Linked DNA regions of Homo sapiens: region 2 is linked to region 1. Evidence: promoter capture Hi-C in human tissues and cell types (Jung and others, 2019). All regions are on one chromosome and are shown on one strand. Each heading gives the region's core, a stretch centred on a gene start or on the middle of the fragment in contact. The rest is flanking DNA. Distances are from core to core; before and after follow the strand shown. Region 1 overlaps OTOP1 (otopetrin 1). Region 2 holds the start of OTOP1 (otopetrin 1).

Region 1 (7,127 bases), core at 1,071-3,570:
GACGGGTGACGCGGATCTCTACACACAACCTGCCTAAACAGACTCTCTAGAAGCAGTTTATAAAGAAATTCCACGTGAACTCCGGGAGAGGATATGAATTTGATGTACAGTATGTCCTCACTTAACATCTTTGAAAGTCTCTTGGAAACTTGACCTTTCAGCAAAATTCTGTATACTGAAACGTTTTTAGCAGGTGACTTGATTTGATTTACATTTTTCAGACATGTAGCTTCACTATCATGGTTATGGTGGTCCGTGTGTTACTAACATTGCTGAAACCACCATGCCAGAATTACCCTCCCATTTGTGGGTTAAAACACTGTGCCCATCTCTCCCTCCCCAGAGTCCTCTTGGTGGCTACTCTTAGGAGGAACTAACATCGCCTACATTCCCCCATCACACCCAGCACAAGTGCCCTCCCAGCCAGCTTCCCCAGCCTCCCCCACCCAACTCAGTCCCACTCACACCCAGCATGCCAGGGACTCTCCCATCAGGGGAACACCCTGTAACCCCCAAGTTCCTCCAAAGCCTCTTGAGAGGGACCAGAGTGCCCTGCAGGGAGTGGGTCCTGGTGGGTCCGGTGGAGGGAACGTCCTTGCTGGAACTGGCTGGGTCTTAGCCGGGAAGTGGTGACAGGTATCTCTCACATACGCTACGGGAACCCAGCGCAGCCAATGGAGTCCAATCAGCACACCTTGCGCCCACCCATTCGTTTGGTACCTTGAGGCCACTGCCCACCCTCCAGGTACCCCGGTCTCAAGCTTGCCCTGAAGTTCAGGGAAAGGCGCTGGCGCCCCCTGCTGGTTGCGCTCTCCCATAGCAGGGCTCACATTTTTGGAGAAAGAAACCAGCTGTTAGCAGCTTTCACTCTTCACCATGTTAAGCAAAGTGCAGCATTTTATAACTGGATGAAAAGCCAGATATTCTGTCAGCTGACTAGATTGTTCTGTACGCATATCCCTGAGCTATTGTTTGAAGGATATTTTTACTGAGTTGACTTTCTTCATAAGATGATATGACTAATGAAAAGAAAAGGCAATGGAGTTTTTAAAACCGGCATGAGGAACCAAATGCTGCCACTGACTAGCTATGTACATGTGATCCAAAGGTTCCCTCTGTTCAAACAAAATAACAGTGCTTACCTAACCAGGTCATCTGTGAGCTGGGACTTCACAGGCAGGCGTGGAGGGAGATGGATGCGAGAAGGGCTTCGTTAGCTGAGAGGGTCGTGCAACTGGAAGGTAATAGCAAGCATTTTCCAGTTGGAACTTTTGGCCGACATTTGTGGTGGGGAGACAAACAGGTCTAATTTGCCTCCCGCGCATGGGCAGGTAGGAAGATGCTGGTGGGTTTGGTTCGACAGTCTTGTGGAAGGGGTGCTTTTTTAATGCACACTCAGGCACCATGGGAGCCTGTTGTCACCCTGGATATCTGGCTCCGTGCCCGTGCCCTTCCACCCTGCCTCGACAAGAGTCATGGCACCCAAAATAAATGAGTTCAAATCTGAGTTTCACAGGCTCAGGGAAGAACCCAAGCTACCAAATGCACAGGCCCCTCCTGTATACGGTTACAGCAGGTAAGGGAATAACTTACTCAGTGCAAGCTGCTACAATAAAACAGCACAAGCTGAGTGGCTAATCAACAACAGGCATTTATTTCTCACAGGTCTGGAGGCTGGAAGCCCAAGATCAGGGTGCCAGTGCTGGCATGGTCGGGTTCTGGTGAGGGCCCTCTTCCGGGTCACAGACAGCTGTCTTCTCATTGCATCCTCATATGACAGAAAAGAAGTGCACAAGCTCTCTGGCCCCCTCTTACAGGTGCTAATCCCATTCACAAGGGTCCTACCATCATGACCTCATTACCTCCCAAAGACCCCACCTCCAAATACCACCACATTGCCATTAAGCTTCAATATATGAATTTAAGGGGGAAACAAACATCCAGTCCATTGCAGGTTGTCCTGATAATATGTGTGCCCGGGGCATTGTCCCCACAGCAAATAGCGACATTGGAAGGCAAACCAATGTCAGGTTTCCTAATGTGCACAGAGGCGTCCGTGGAAGAGTGAGTCCGGTGATCTTACCAGCTAATTGCATTGAGCTACCCCACCTTGGGGATTTACCTGCCAAGGAGAACAGAACACCACTGGCTTTGACACCCATCTCTCAACAATGATGGATGAATGCTGGAAATTTACCTGCTTGGGTAGCTGTGTCTAAGTTCATCTTCCTTGTATGGACTTTCTTTTTTTCTTGCTCTCAAATACTTGTATTATGAAATATCTCATTTAAAGTTTCTTTAAAATACATTAAAAGTATATTTAAAGAGTACGTTTTAAGAGTGCAGAGAAAACATAATGAATACCTCTTTGCTTAAGAAAAAGTATTTCAGACACAGCATGAAATCAGTTGCTGGTTCCAAGCCCCTCCCCTTCTCACTACGCTGAACTTGGCGTGCATTCTTTCTTCAGGTGTGTTTGTAATCTTACTGCATATGGACATATCCCCCAGCAATATCAGGGATTGTTTTGCTTGTTCCTAGACATCATATTAATGGTATCATACCAATTATATGCCTGCGCTACTTAATGTTTCATTCAACATTGTTTTGGGGGACTATCCATGTTGATACCTGAATTCTCTTGTGTTCATTTTTTCCTTTTGTGAAATAGTCCATCATGGAAATAGTCCCTGGTGTGCCTATCTGCACTCCTAATTGACAGGCATTTAGGCTGTTTTCCATTTTCCTAATTACAAGTGATGCTGAGTGCACATTCCTGAACACAGGTGTGAGGCTGTCTCTGGAGCACATGCCAAGGAACAGAATTCTTAGCTCATAAGGAATGTGTACCTCCAGCCTTAGTCAATATTGCCAATTGCTGTCCAATCTGATTTTATTCATTTACGCTCCCACTAGCAGTATATATGGGTCTTTCTTTCACTTCTTGCCAACTCTTGCCAGTCTAATGAATGGGAAGTAGTAACTCATTATTATTTCAATTTGTATTCCGTGTATTAATCCCTGAGACCTTAACACTTGTGTATTGCACATTCTGGTTCCTCTTTGGCAAATTGCCTTGGCATTAAGATAGTAAATTTTCCTTGCCACCTAGGCTGGTTGAATCAGGATGCTTAATTACTTAGAGGTAAAAAGCACCTGGCTGAAATAGCCATCCCTGAGGCTGCCTGTTGAGGATAAGAGATGCTTCATCCATCTTTAGATCCTTTCTTGGAAACGCTGAGCGCAGCCAGCCATGCAGGCTTTTCCAAGCTCTGATGCTGCCATGTGTCCACAATAGCATCCCCACAACCTGGATCCATCATTCCCAGCATAATGATGGCTCCTTTTCTTCTCCTTGGCAGAGCCCAAAACCCAAAGCTGAGGCCTCAGGGCTGTTCTAATGTGCTTAGAATGGGGGTAAAGGTAATGCCAACCAAAATGAGGAAACCGGTATTCCCACTCAGTCACTGCTGAGTCAGCGTAAATCACTCCAGAGGACAGTTTGTCACTGACCTCAAAGACTCAATTACAAAGATGATCACCATAGCATTGTTTACAGTAGCACCAAAAAAAAGGAACCACCTAAATATCTCTAAATGTCCAACATCACGGTTTGAAAAAATAAGGAATGGTACATCCTTCCATGGAGTGTACTTTAAAGCCACCCAAAATCATACTGCACATGGATATACAATGTCAAGGAAACTTGCTCAGGAGTCCTAGCTTGTGGTCCATGGACTCCCAAGGAGATGCTTCTCAAAGGGAATTGGCATCCCCTGAGATACTCATGAAAGTGCAGACTTCCGGGCCCCCCTCCAGACTGAATCTGAACTTCCATATTGGAGGGCAGGAATCCTACCAAGTTCCCCAGATGAGTCTCAGGCACACTAAAGCCAGAGCGTCGATGCCTGGGACCCAAAACAGGGAAGAAGCACTCTGGTGTATCAAGAGGAAAAAAGCAAGTTACATACAAACGCAGTATATATAAAAACCACCCCCTTCATGTGGGTGTGGGTGTATGCATACTTTTGAAAAAAAAAAAAATTATCAGCTGGTTGCAGTGGCTCACGTCTGTAATCCCAGCACTTTGGGAGGCCAAGGTGGGTGGATCACCTGAGGTCAGGAGTTCGAGGCCAGCCTGGCCAACATGGTAAAACCCTGTCTGTACTAAAAATACAAAAATTAGCTGGGCGTGGTGGTAGGCATCTGTAATCCCAGTTACTTCGGAGGCTGAGGCAGGAGAGTCGCTTGAACCCAGGAGGCGGTGGTTACAGTGAACCAAGGTCATGCCATTGCACTCCAGCCTGGGCAACAAGAGTGAAAGTCCGTCTCAAAAAAATAAAAATAAATATATATATATAATTTTTTTTAATTTTTATTTTTTAGAGACAGGGTCCTGCTGTGTCACCCAAGCTAGAATGCAGTGGCACGATCTTGGCTCACTACCCAATCTCAAACTCCTGGGCTCAAGTGATCCTCTCCACTCAGCCTCATGAGTAGCTGGGACTACAGGCATACTCCACCGCAAATGGGTTTTTTGTTTTGTTTTGTTTTGTTTTTTGTACAGACAGGGTCTCACTATGTTTGTGTTCCCTGGCTGGTCTTAAACTCTTGGCCTCAAGCGATCCTTCCGCGTCAGCCTCCCAAAGTATTGGGATTACAGGTGTGAGCCACCACGCCCAGCCTGTGTGCATGTACTAATACTTAACAGCAGTTACCTCTAGATTACCTCAGCACCATTGACAATCAGCCCAAAGACTCTTTGTGGTGGGGCTGTCCTGTATGTTGTAGGGTGTTAGCCGTATCCATGGGTGCAGTAGTGTAACAATCAAAAATGTGTTTGGTAGCACGAAAGCGCAACTATAGTTAACAATAATTTATTGTATATTTTAGAGTAACAAACATAGTGAAATTACGTTGTTCCTAACACAAAAAAAGATATATACTTTAGGGTATGAATATCTCAGTCACCCTGATTTGATTATTACTTATTATATGTTTATATCAAAATATCACATGTACCCTGTAAGTATGTACAAATATTATGCATAATTTAGATTTATTTTAATTTTAATAAAAAATAAATATTAAAAAATGTCCTCAGATATTGCTAAATGTCCCCTCAAGGAACAAGGTCCCCAGGTGGAGAACCGATTCTCTAGATGGGACATGTATAGATGATGTTTTCCTTTGTTTTTTAGTATATATGCCTATTTTTTAGTTTTTTCTAAAATAAGTGTACTTTAGTCATATTAAAAAAAACTTTGTATTTATTACTGTCCCATTGCCTGCACTGTCTGAAAAAAATACACTCAAATGAAAACATATTCACTTTAATACTTACAGTAAGAAAATTAATTTTATTATTATTTTAAAATAGCTATGGAAAAACTATACAAAGTCCTCCCAAATGTCAATATTCCTTAGGCACCTTTGAAATATTTATAATCTTAATCTTTGGGCTAGGCATCCTAATTGTAATTTCATATCTTAAAGAAGCAATTCTAAATATAGGAAATGCTTCACAAATATGGTTGATTTTTCAGAGTTACTTATAAAAGCAAAAAGTTATAAACACTGTAAAACCAACCATAGGAAACTATGTTAATTAAGGTACATTCACTTGATAGACTATCATACAGCATTAAAATGATATTTATAAAGAATTTATAACAATATGGGGGCAAGGTTTATGCCATATTGTTAAGTGGGAAAATAACTGAATACAAAATCAAATATGTTACATCATCATTCAAAGGTATAATAATGACAATAAAAAGAATCTCATCAACATGGTTGGAAGAAATACACCAAGATATTAAAAGTAATTGTTAATTGAACAATGGCATCATAGGTGACTTTTTCTCTCTACTTTTCTGAAATATCCAAATTTTTTACAATAAACATGTAAGTGTTTACAGTGAAAGAGAGAATAGTGAAATTTCCTTTTAAAAATACTTGAAAATGATCACAAAAATGTGTCAACATTTCAGGTAAGAAATATGTTTTTATATTGGTCTGTACACAAATTTCTATCCAGATGATAAAAATAACTTCAAGAAATTAAACCTATTCAGAAACAATATAAACTCATTGTGATTGTGTCTAAATTCATAGGCTTTGAGAAGGATAAATTTTTAAAGTGTAAATTACTATGCAGGTGGTCAGGAAAAGGTTGTATGGAGTCACATGATAAATGACACAAAGAAAATGCTTTTTATGAAAAACAAACTGGATAGATTTTTTCCCAAGCCAGAATCACATTCTTCTAAATCATTTAGAAGGAAATAAAATAATTTGGGCTTGATTAGCATTTAACTAACCAAGGACAGATTCCAGCCACCTCATGGATTTTGATCTAACTTGTTTACATTCATCAGGGGTGATGGGCAGTTCCAGCCCACAGGAAGCACAATCTTTGCAGACAAAAGGTGGCCCTTCTCATATTTGTCAGGCAATATTTGCCCAACCTGGCCACTCCTAGTTGGCTCCAATGAACTCTTGTTAGCTCACTCCTAGGTCTCTTGTGGACCCAGACTATATCTTACAATAGACCTCAAAGAGGGAGGCAGCTGCGTGCATTCGATAGAAAATAGAAAAAGGCATGGCCAGGTTGACCACAATTATCCAGGGTTCAAAGCCAAAGACAATCTCCTCCAATCCATTGTCATACTCAGGTCGACAGCCAAAGGCGGGAGGTATCCAAAGCTGCAAGAGAAGAGAAAATGGCATGTGGTGGGGAGCAGCTTCCAAGCCACCACGGAGGCCCCACTCAAGTCCCAGGCCTCATGGGAGCTGAACCTAATGCACAGGGACTGAGTCACCCCTGACAGAACAATAAGGAGACCTCATGGCATTTCCCATCTCCACAGAAACCACCAAATCCATGTCTGCCATGATCCTGCTCACTTCCTCAACCACCCTTCCCTGCAATCCATCCTGAATGAGCACTTTCTGAACCCATCCAACTCTTTCCATCCCTACAGCCCTCGCCCAGCCTCGGTTTCCTCATTTGAAAGATGGGAATTCTAACACGTGTCTGAGAGGGCTTAGATGAGAATTAAGTTTGCAAAACTGAAAGCAATGACTTTTGTTTGTGTTGTTCACGGAACCTACACACTGTTCCC
Region 2 (7,240 bases), core at 968-3,467, 42 kb after region 1:
ATGAACTAGATCCAGTCCCTGAGCCTAAGAAGTCTAAAATCTCTTCTGGATGGTAAGGCTAATATCCAACAGTCATAATACAAGGCAGAAACGGACAAGGACCAAAAGAGCTTTACAGAAAGGGGGCCATGGTGGCCCATAGAAGTGAGGAGTAATTCCTGCCAGGCATTTGTGAAGAAGGTGGCATCTGGCCAGGACCTTTGAAAGAAATGTGGAAAGGAGGCCTAGTGTGTGCTGGGCAGCCACCTCATCAGTCACTGGATCTTATCCAGTTTGAGATCCCCATTCTACAGATGCTGAAACCAGGGTTCAGGGTAAGGAAGGCAATCAGGTAACTTGCCCAAGGTCATGCATGCAAGGAACACGGAAGCCCCACTCTAATGGAGATTTAAATTCAGGTCTAATATGAGAGTCCAAGTGGCAATGTGTGATGTGCCTGGACCACGTGGTGTGAAATGCACTTGGCCTCTCCTGGGAAGGTTACTCAGACAGAAGCTTTCTTCACAAGCATGCTCCCCATGGCCTCCTCCCTTTCACCTGCACCATGTCTGTCTCCCATTCAAGACTGGCAGCCCCAGCCAGGCACAGTGGTTCATGCCTGTGATCCCAGCATTTTGGGAGGCCAAGGCAGGAGGATCCCTGGAGGCCAGGAGTTTGAGAAAAGGAGACAACACAACGAGGCCCTATCTGTACAAAATATAACAAAACTTAGCTGGGCAAGGCCATGTGTGTCTATAGTTCCAGCTATTCAGGAGGCTGAAGTGGGAGGATTGCTTGAGCCCAGGAGGAAGAGGCTGTAGTGAGCTGTGATTGTGCCACTGCACTCCAGCCTGGGAGATAGAGCAACATTGTCTCAAAAAAAAAAAAAAAAATGTGGCAGCCCCTTGAGGAAGAAAGAGCTCCTATCTTGACAATTTCAGCCAATGCCTGTGAGTACCAGCAGGAGCCTCTATCCCTCTTTGCCCCACCCTGCATCCACGCATTCATTATTTCATTCATACCCCCTCATTTTCTCAACACCCACTTCGTGCCAGGCCCTGAGGTGGCTCTAGGACCGAGAGACAGGGATCACAGAGCTCCCCAGTGGAGTGGAGGGTACAGACATGTTGACAAGAACACTGGAGCCCAGTGCGGGCTGGGGGCATGTGGTCAGACCTGCAAAGCCGGGAGGAGAAGGGGGTCGGAGAAGCTTCGCGGGGAGAATGGGGTGAGGCCTGAGCCCTGTCTCGGAAAGCAGAGGGGCAGGTGGGAAAGTGGAAAAGACATTCCTGGAGGAGAGAACCGAAGGTGCCGAATGTGCAGAGGCAGAGGTCCTGCGATGGGCGAGAAAGTTCGCGAGAATGACCCCAGCACAGGATGAGAACAAAGGAGGGGATCAAAGGAAACGGGCCCTCGGGGGCCGAGTGCTAGAAGGCTCTGAGTGTCAGGAGAGGGAGCGTGGCCTCCATCATGGGGTCAGTAGGGCCACTGCATGGCTTTAAGTCAGGGAAGGACAAGAGAGGTTTCTGTAACTGTGGCTGTAATGATGGAAGCGTCTGGAGGCGGAGAGGAGGCTCCTGCGGCGACCCAAGCTTCAGAGAGAGAGAGAGGAAAGGAAGGGCAGACAGGAAAGCTAGGAAAGATGCACAGAGAGACCAAGGCAGAAAAGGCTGAAGGGAAGACGGCAGCGGTAGGAAGGGCGCAGAGCAGCCTCAGGATGCAGCCAGCGGGCGAGGAGGCGGAGACCCGCTCGCCCGGCGCCTGGACTCACCGCGCAGCCAGCCGGCACCCGCGTGCGTGTCCTTGAGGCGGAAGAGGCGGCGGTGCGCGGAGCTGCGGCCCACGTACCACAGCATCCACAGCAGCTGCAGCAGCATGAGCGCCGTCAGGAAGCACAGCAGGTCGCTCTTGCTCACGCCCGCGGCGTGCACGGCCCAGGCCAGCAGCAGCAGCAGCCCCGCCACGAACACGATCAGCCCATACTGGCTGCTCAGCATCTCGGCCAGTTTCTGTGGGACGCTGGCGCGCACACCGCCCCGCCGGGGGGCCGGGGATTCCGGGGACCTCGGGGCCGAGGACGAGGGAGGCGAGCAGGCCGCTGGCCCCGACGACCCTGCGACCGAGGCGCTTGCAGCTGCCCGGGGCGAGGCGGGCGACCCCAGGCCCTCGAGCATCTTCGAGACACCCGCGCCAAGTCTGGTCCCGGGGGTGGCTGCCGTCGGGCCCCGCCTGCGCTCCTGGCTCCTGTCCTTGCCCCGACGCCTCTGCCAACCAGCACCTCCCTTTTCAACTCCCTTCCGATTCCTACCCCACGCCCCTGCCAACCTGCCCCCTCTCCTGTCACCTCCCGACGCCCGCCCTCCCCTCTTCTGCCCCTTCGTCCTCCGTCAAGGTACCACCCTGTCCACTTACCCAGCGCCCCACCCTGCTGACCTGGGATTCTACGAGCTCCCTTGCCCGCTGCCCCTCACTGGGCAACGCCCGGGGCAGCCATCTGCCCCCTCCGGGACCCACGCGGACAGCTCCCCGCTCCTGATCCCTGGGACACTGGCCAGCCCTGCCGCGACACTAGCGCGTCCTCCCGCACCTCCGCCCGCGCGCCCGGCCCCCGCCCGCCGTCTGCAGCCCTCACCCCTGAGCCGACGCCCGCCCACCCAGCCCCTGTCCGGGCGCCCCGGAAACGCTGGGTGACAAGAAGTGCCTGCCGGGGTCCCGGGGTTGCGGGACTGGGGAGAGGGGGTCTCCCGGAGCCAGCCCGAGGGGGGTGTGCGCGGGGGGCGTGGCTGCTGCCAAGCGGGGCGTCCGGGGCTCCACAGGGGCTTGCGATGCTCCGGGCCTTCCCCGAGGGTCTCCGTTGGGGAACCCAGAGGTCCAGGGGATCCTGCCTGCGTCCGTGTCCGAGCGTCCGACGGTCTGTACTCGTCCCTGCGTATTTCTGTATTGTCTTCTCTGTGCGGGTCACTCTGTGTCTGGCCGTCTGTTATCGGGTGTGTCTGGTTAGGGGTGGAGGAGCGCCCGTCACTGGCTCTCTGAATTGGGGGAGGGGCCGCCTTCTGTGGGTTTTTCTGTTTGTCCGTCTGGTGTGCCTGTGTGTCGGCTGCGAGATGCCCAGGCGCAGAATAAGACCTGAGCCACTTTCTAAGAAAAGAGACCATCCCGCACCCTCCCCCAAAGGAGCGGCAGCCGTTCTGGACCCAGAGGAGCTGGAATGAGGGACGCCCCGGGGTCTGCCCTGTTGCTACCGGCGCCCAAGCGTCTTCACTAGCCCCTTCCAAAGCCCCGGTGCCCGCCTGGCACCCGCCTGCTCCCGGAAGGGGACTGAGTCTGCCAGGGAGCCCCGCTCGGGTGCCGCTAAGTGGAGGTCTGGGAAGTTTCAGCTGAAGAGCGTTCTACGGGTCTGGCGTGGCTGACAGGAGGCGCCGGACCCCAGCCCCCCAGCCGCAGGTTGGAGAGGGGAGTTGGGAGCGAGCCTGGGGCAAGCCCACATCCCACCGTGCAGCAGCCCGGGGCTGGGCCCGGAAGACACCCTCTCGCTCTTGGTTTAAGGTTCTTGCCGTCTTGAAATTCTTAATTTTTGAACAAGAGGGCCCATGTTTTTGTTTTGCGCTAAGCGCAGCAAATTGCAATAGCAGGTCCTGACTAGTAAAGGAGGGGTGGGGAGTCCTGGGCTAGCAAGGAGTCAACCTGGGGGACCTTACCTTGCCACCATCATTCTTCCAATTCACGCATTCATGCATTTGATCAACACATATGTATGTGTTGACCTATGAATCATTTGCTGCTCTCTGTTCTAGCAGCTGGGTTTTCAGCTATGAAAGGCTCTGCTCAGGTGGAGCTGATGTTCAGGTAGAGAAACAGCAATAAACAAACAGCTAATGAGCCCTCACTGGGAAGCTGGGGATCATGACCTGTGAGACTTAGCCCTCAACTTCTAAGAGCTTGGGAGTGGGGACAGAGTAAGCAGCACAACACCCTTGAGCAGGGCTACAACCAGGGGCCTGGGAGGAGTCCAGGTCTGCAGGAAGGCTGAGAGGTTCAGGGAGGAGGCAACACCTGCACAGTCTTCTTTCTTTCTTTCTTTCTCTTATTTTTATCTTTTAATAAGGACAGGGTCTCCCTGTGTCTCCCAGGCTGGAATGAAGTGGTGTGATTATGGCTCACTACAGCCTCGAATTCTGGGGCTCAAGTGCTCCTCCCGCCTCAGCCTCCCGAATAGCTGGGACTACAGGTGTGTGCTACCACGCCTGGCTCATTTTTTTTAAATTGTTTTTTTGTAGAGACGGGTCTCACTATGTTGCTCAGGTTGATCTCAAACTCCTGGGCTCAAGCCATCCTCCTACCTCAGCCTCCCAAAGCACTGGGATCACAGGCTCCAGCTACCACGTCCAGCCTCCTGCACATTCTTTAGGCTTAGGAGTGGATGGTCAGGCGGAAGGGAGCAGGGGTCTGGAAAGGCAATCCAGAGAGAAGATCCAGCAAACCTACTAGGGACCCTCCACCTTCTCCCCTCCTCTTCCTACCAACAGCCAGAGCAACCTGGGAGCCTGAGCTGAAGATGGAAGAGCCTGTCTGCGTGTCTCCCCAGTGACTAGTGAGGCGGCTTTTCCTCCCGAAGCTGGACCTTACATCAGTGAGAAATAAACTTCCATTGTGCTAAGCCACCAAAGTCTGAAATGTTACAGCAGCTAGCAGTACCTTAACCCGTTGAGTACAAAGATAAATAAAGCTCAGTCACCATCTGAAAATCAAGTGGAATGCCTGTCTCTGGGCTACCTGCACTTTTTTGTTTGTTTGTTTGGTTGGTTGGTTGGTTTTTTGAGATGGAGTCTCACTCTGTTACCCAAGCTGGAGTGCAGTGGCACAATCATCTCAGCTCACTGCAACCTCTGCCTCCTGAGTTCAAGCGATTCTCCTGCCTCAGCCTCCCGAGTAGCTGGGATTACAGGCGCCTGCCACCATGCCCGGCTAATTTCTGTATTTTTAGTAGAGGTGCGGTTTCCCCATGCTGGCTAGCCTGGTCTTAACTCCTGACCTCGTGATCCACCCCTTGGCCTCCCAAAGTGCTGGAATTACCAGCATGAGCCACCCCACCTGGCCTGCATTTTTTTAAGAAGCAATGAAATGAAAGTTTCTGGAGGCTAAAGTCAGCCCCCTTTATTGTAATCTCAAGACAATGTTAAAACTCACTGAGAGCCTGTAATCCCAGCACTTTGGGAGGTCGAGGCAGATCACTTGAGGTCAGGAGTTCGAGACTAGCCTGGCCAACATGGTGAAACACCGTCTCTACTAAAAATACAAAAATTAGCCAGCGTGGTGGTGCGCACCTGTAATCCCAGCTACTTGAGAGGCTGAGGCAGGAGAATCTCTTGAACCCAGGAGGCAGAGGCAGAGGCAGAGGTTGCAGTGAGCCAAGATTGTGCCACTGGACTCCAGCCTGGATGACAGAGTGAGACTCCATCTCAATAAATACATAAAATAAAACTGAGAGATTTACCCACACTGTGTTCTATCTTCCACCGGTGAGATTTTTTTCAAAAGTCTGAGCTACACGGGGCCCCCAGTTTCTTACGACTGACCCCTGCTCCGTGGTGGGCAGATACAAGGGGTCAGAAACGATGCTCTGGTGGCATCCAGGCCTGCTGTTTTCACCACATTTGGCGCATCTTACCCCTGCCCACACTGTGTCCTGAGAGCTGTGTGGCATGGCTCAATCAGTGTAAAAGCTGGAAATGTCCTGACCAGGCAGCTGCCTCCCAGTGATGATTCAGTACCACGCAGATGGATGGGGAGGCATGCTGCCCTCGGACACAGGCTCCCTTCCTTTTTTTCTTTTTTTTTTTTTAATACTTTAAGTTCTAGGGTACATGTGCACAACGTGCAGATTTGTTACATATGTATACATGTGCCATGTTGGTGTGCTGCACCCATTAACTCGTCATCTACATTAGGTATTTCTCCTAATGCTATCCCTCCCCACCCCACCCCACAAGAGGCCCCAGTGTGTGATGTTCCCCTTCTTGTGTCCAAGTATTCTCATTGTTCAATTCCCACCTATGAGTGAGAACATGCGGTGTTTGGTTTTTTGTCCTTGCGATAGTTTGCTCAGAATGATGGTTTCCAGCTTCATCCATGTCCCTACAAAGGACATGAACTCATCCTTTTTATGGCTGCATAGTATTCCATGGAGTATATGTGCCATATTTTCTTTATCTAGTCTATCATTGATGGACATTTGGGTTGGTTCCAAGTCTTTGCTATTGTGAATAGTGCTGCAATAATCATACATGTGCAGGTGTCTTTATAGTAGCATGATTTATAATCCTTTGGGTATACCCAGTAATGAAACCACCAGGTCAAATGGTATTTCTAGTTCTAGATGTTTGAGGAATCGCCACACTGTCTTCCACAATGGTTGAACTAGTTTACGCTCCCACCAACAGGGTAAAAGTGTTCCTATTTCTCCACATCCTCTCCAGCGCCTGTTGTTTCCTTTTTAATGATCGCATGGGCTCCCTTCTTCCAGTGAAGATAATGGGATTTCACAGGGCCAGAGGCCCACTGGCACACTCAACTACCGGAGACAATAGAAGGTCCCAAGGGACAATTAGAACATTTTGCTCCCAGTCACCTTTGGTGGTAGCTATGTAATCCCAGTATTTTTAAGAACAAAAGAGTTAGTGTATTCGTTTCTGTTCTTTTCCTTTTTTGAGACAGAGTCTCAATCTATCGCCTAGGCTGGAATGCAGTGGCCTGATCTTGGCTCACTGCAACCTTTGCCTCGTGGGTTCAAGTGATTCTCCTGACTCAGCCTCCCGAGTAGCTGGGATTACAGGTGCACACCAGCATGCCTGGCTAATTTTTTGTATTTTTAGTAGAGATGGGGTTTCACCATGCTGGCCAGGCTGGTCTCGAACTCCTGACCTTGTGATCCACCCACCTCAGCCTCCCAAAGTGCTGGGATTACAGGTGTGAGCCACTGTGCACAGCCAAGTGTATTCATTTCTTAGGATGGGTGTAACAAAGTGCCACTAACTGGGTGGCTTTAAAACAATGAAAATTTATTCTGTCACAGTTTGGGAGGCCAGAAGTCCAAAATCTAGATGTCCGAAAAGCCAAGTTCCCTCTGAAGGCTCCAACGGGGGGTCCTCACCAGCCTCTTCCAGTTTCTGCTTGTTGCTGGCAACCCTTAGCATTCCTTGGCTTGTGGCTATATCACTCCAATCTTTGCCTCTGTTGTCACTTGACCATCTTTCCTCTGCAT

The links. The method cuts DNA at HindIII sites, captures the fragments that hold promoters and counts their contacts. A contact is called where the count stands out against the background at its distance.
Region 2: the fragment with the promoter of OTOP1 here is called in contact with a fragment that was not itself captured in region 1 in 1 of the 25 tissues and cell types used here (lymphoblastoid cells).

What each region holds. Positions count from the first base shown.
Region 1 is chr4:4,182,266-4,189,392 of GRCh38, forward strand. It overlaps OTOP1 (otopetrin 1), which reads right to left. Exons shown (of 6, transcript NM_177998.3): 6 at 6,461-6,708. The coding sequence ends at 6,538. Among named protein-coding and RNA genes, the nearest start is that of OTOP1, 41 kb to the right of the region's middle. The HindIII fragment of the contact is 5,409 bases long and covers 1-5,025 here.
Region 2 is chr4:4,224,712-4,231,951 of GRCh38, forward strand. OTOP1 (otopetrin 1) reads right to left here and starts at 2,218. Exons shown (of 6, transcript NM_177998.3): 1 at 1,751-2,218. The coding sequence starts at 2,153. RefSeq lists enhancers at 1,348-1,968, 2,590-3,210. The HindIII fragment of the contact is 12,453 bases long and covers 1,381-7,240 here.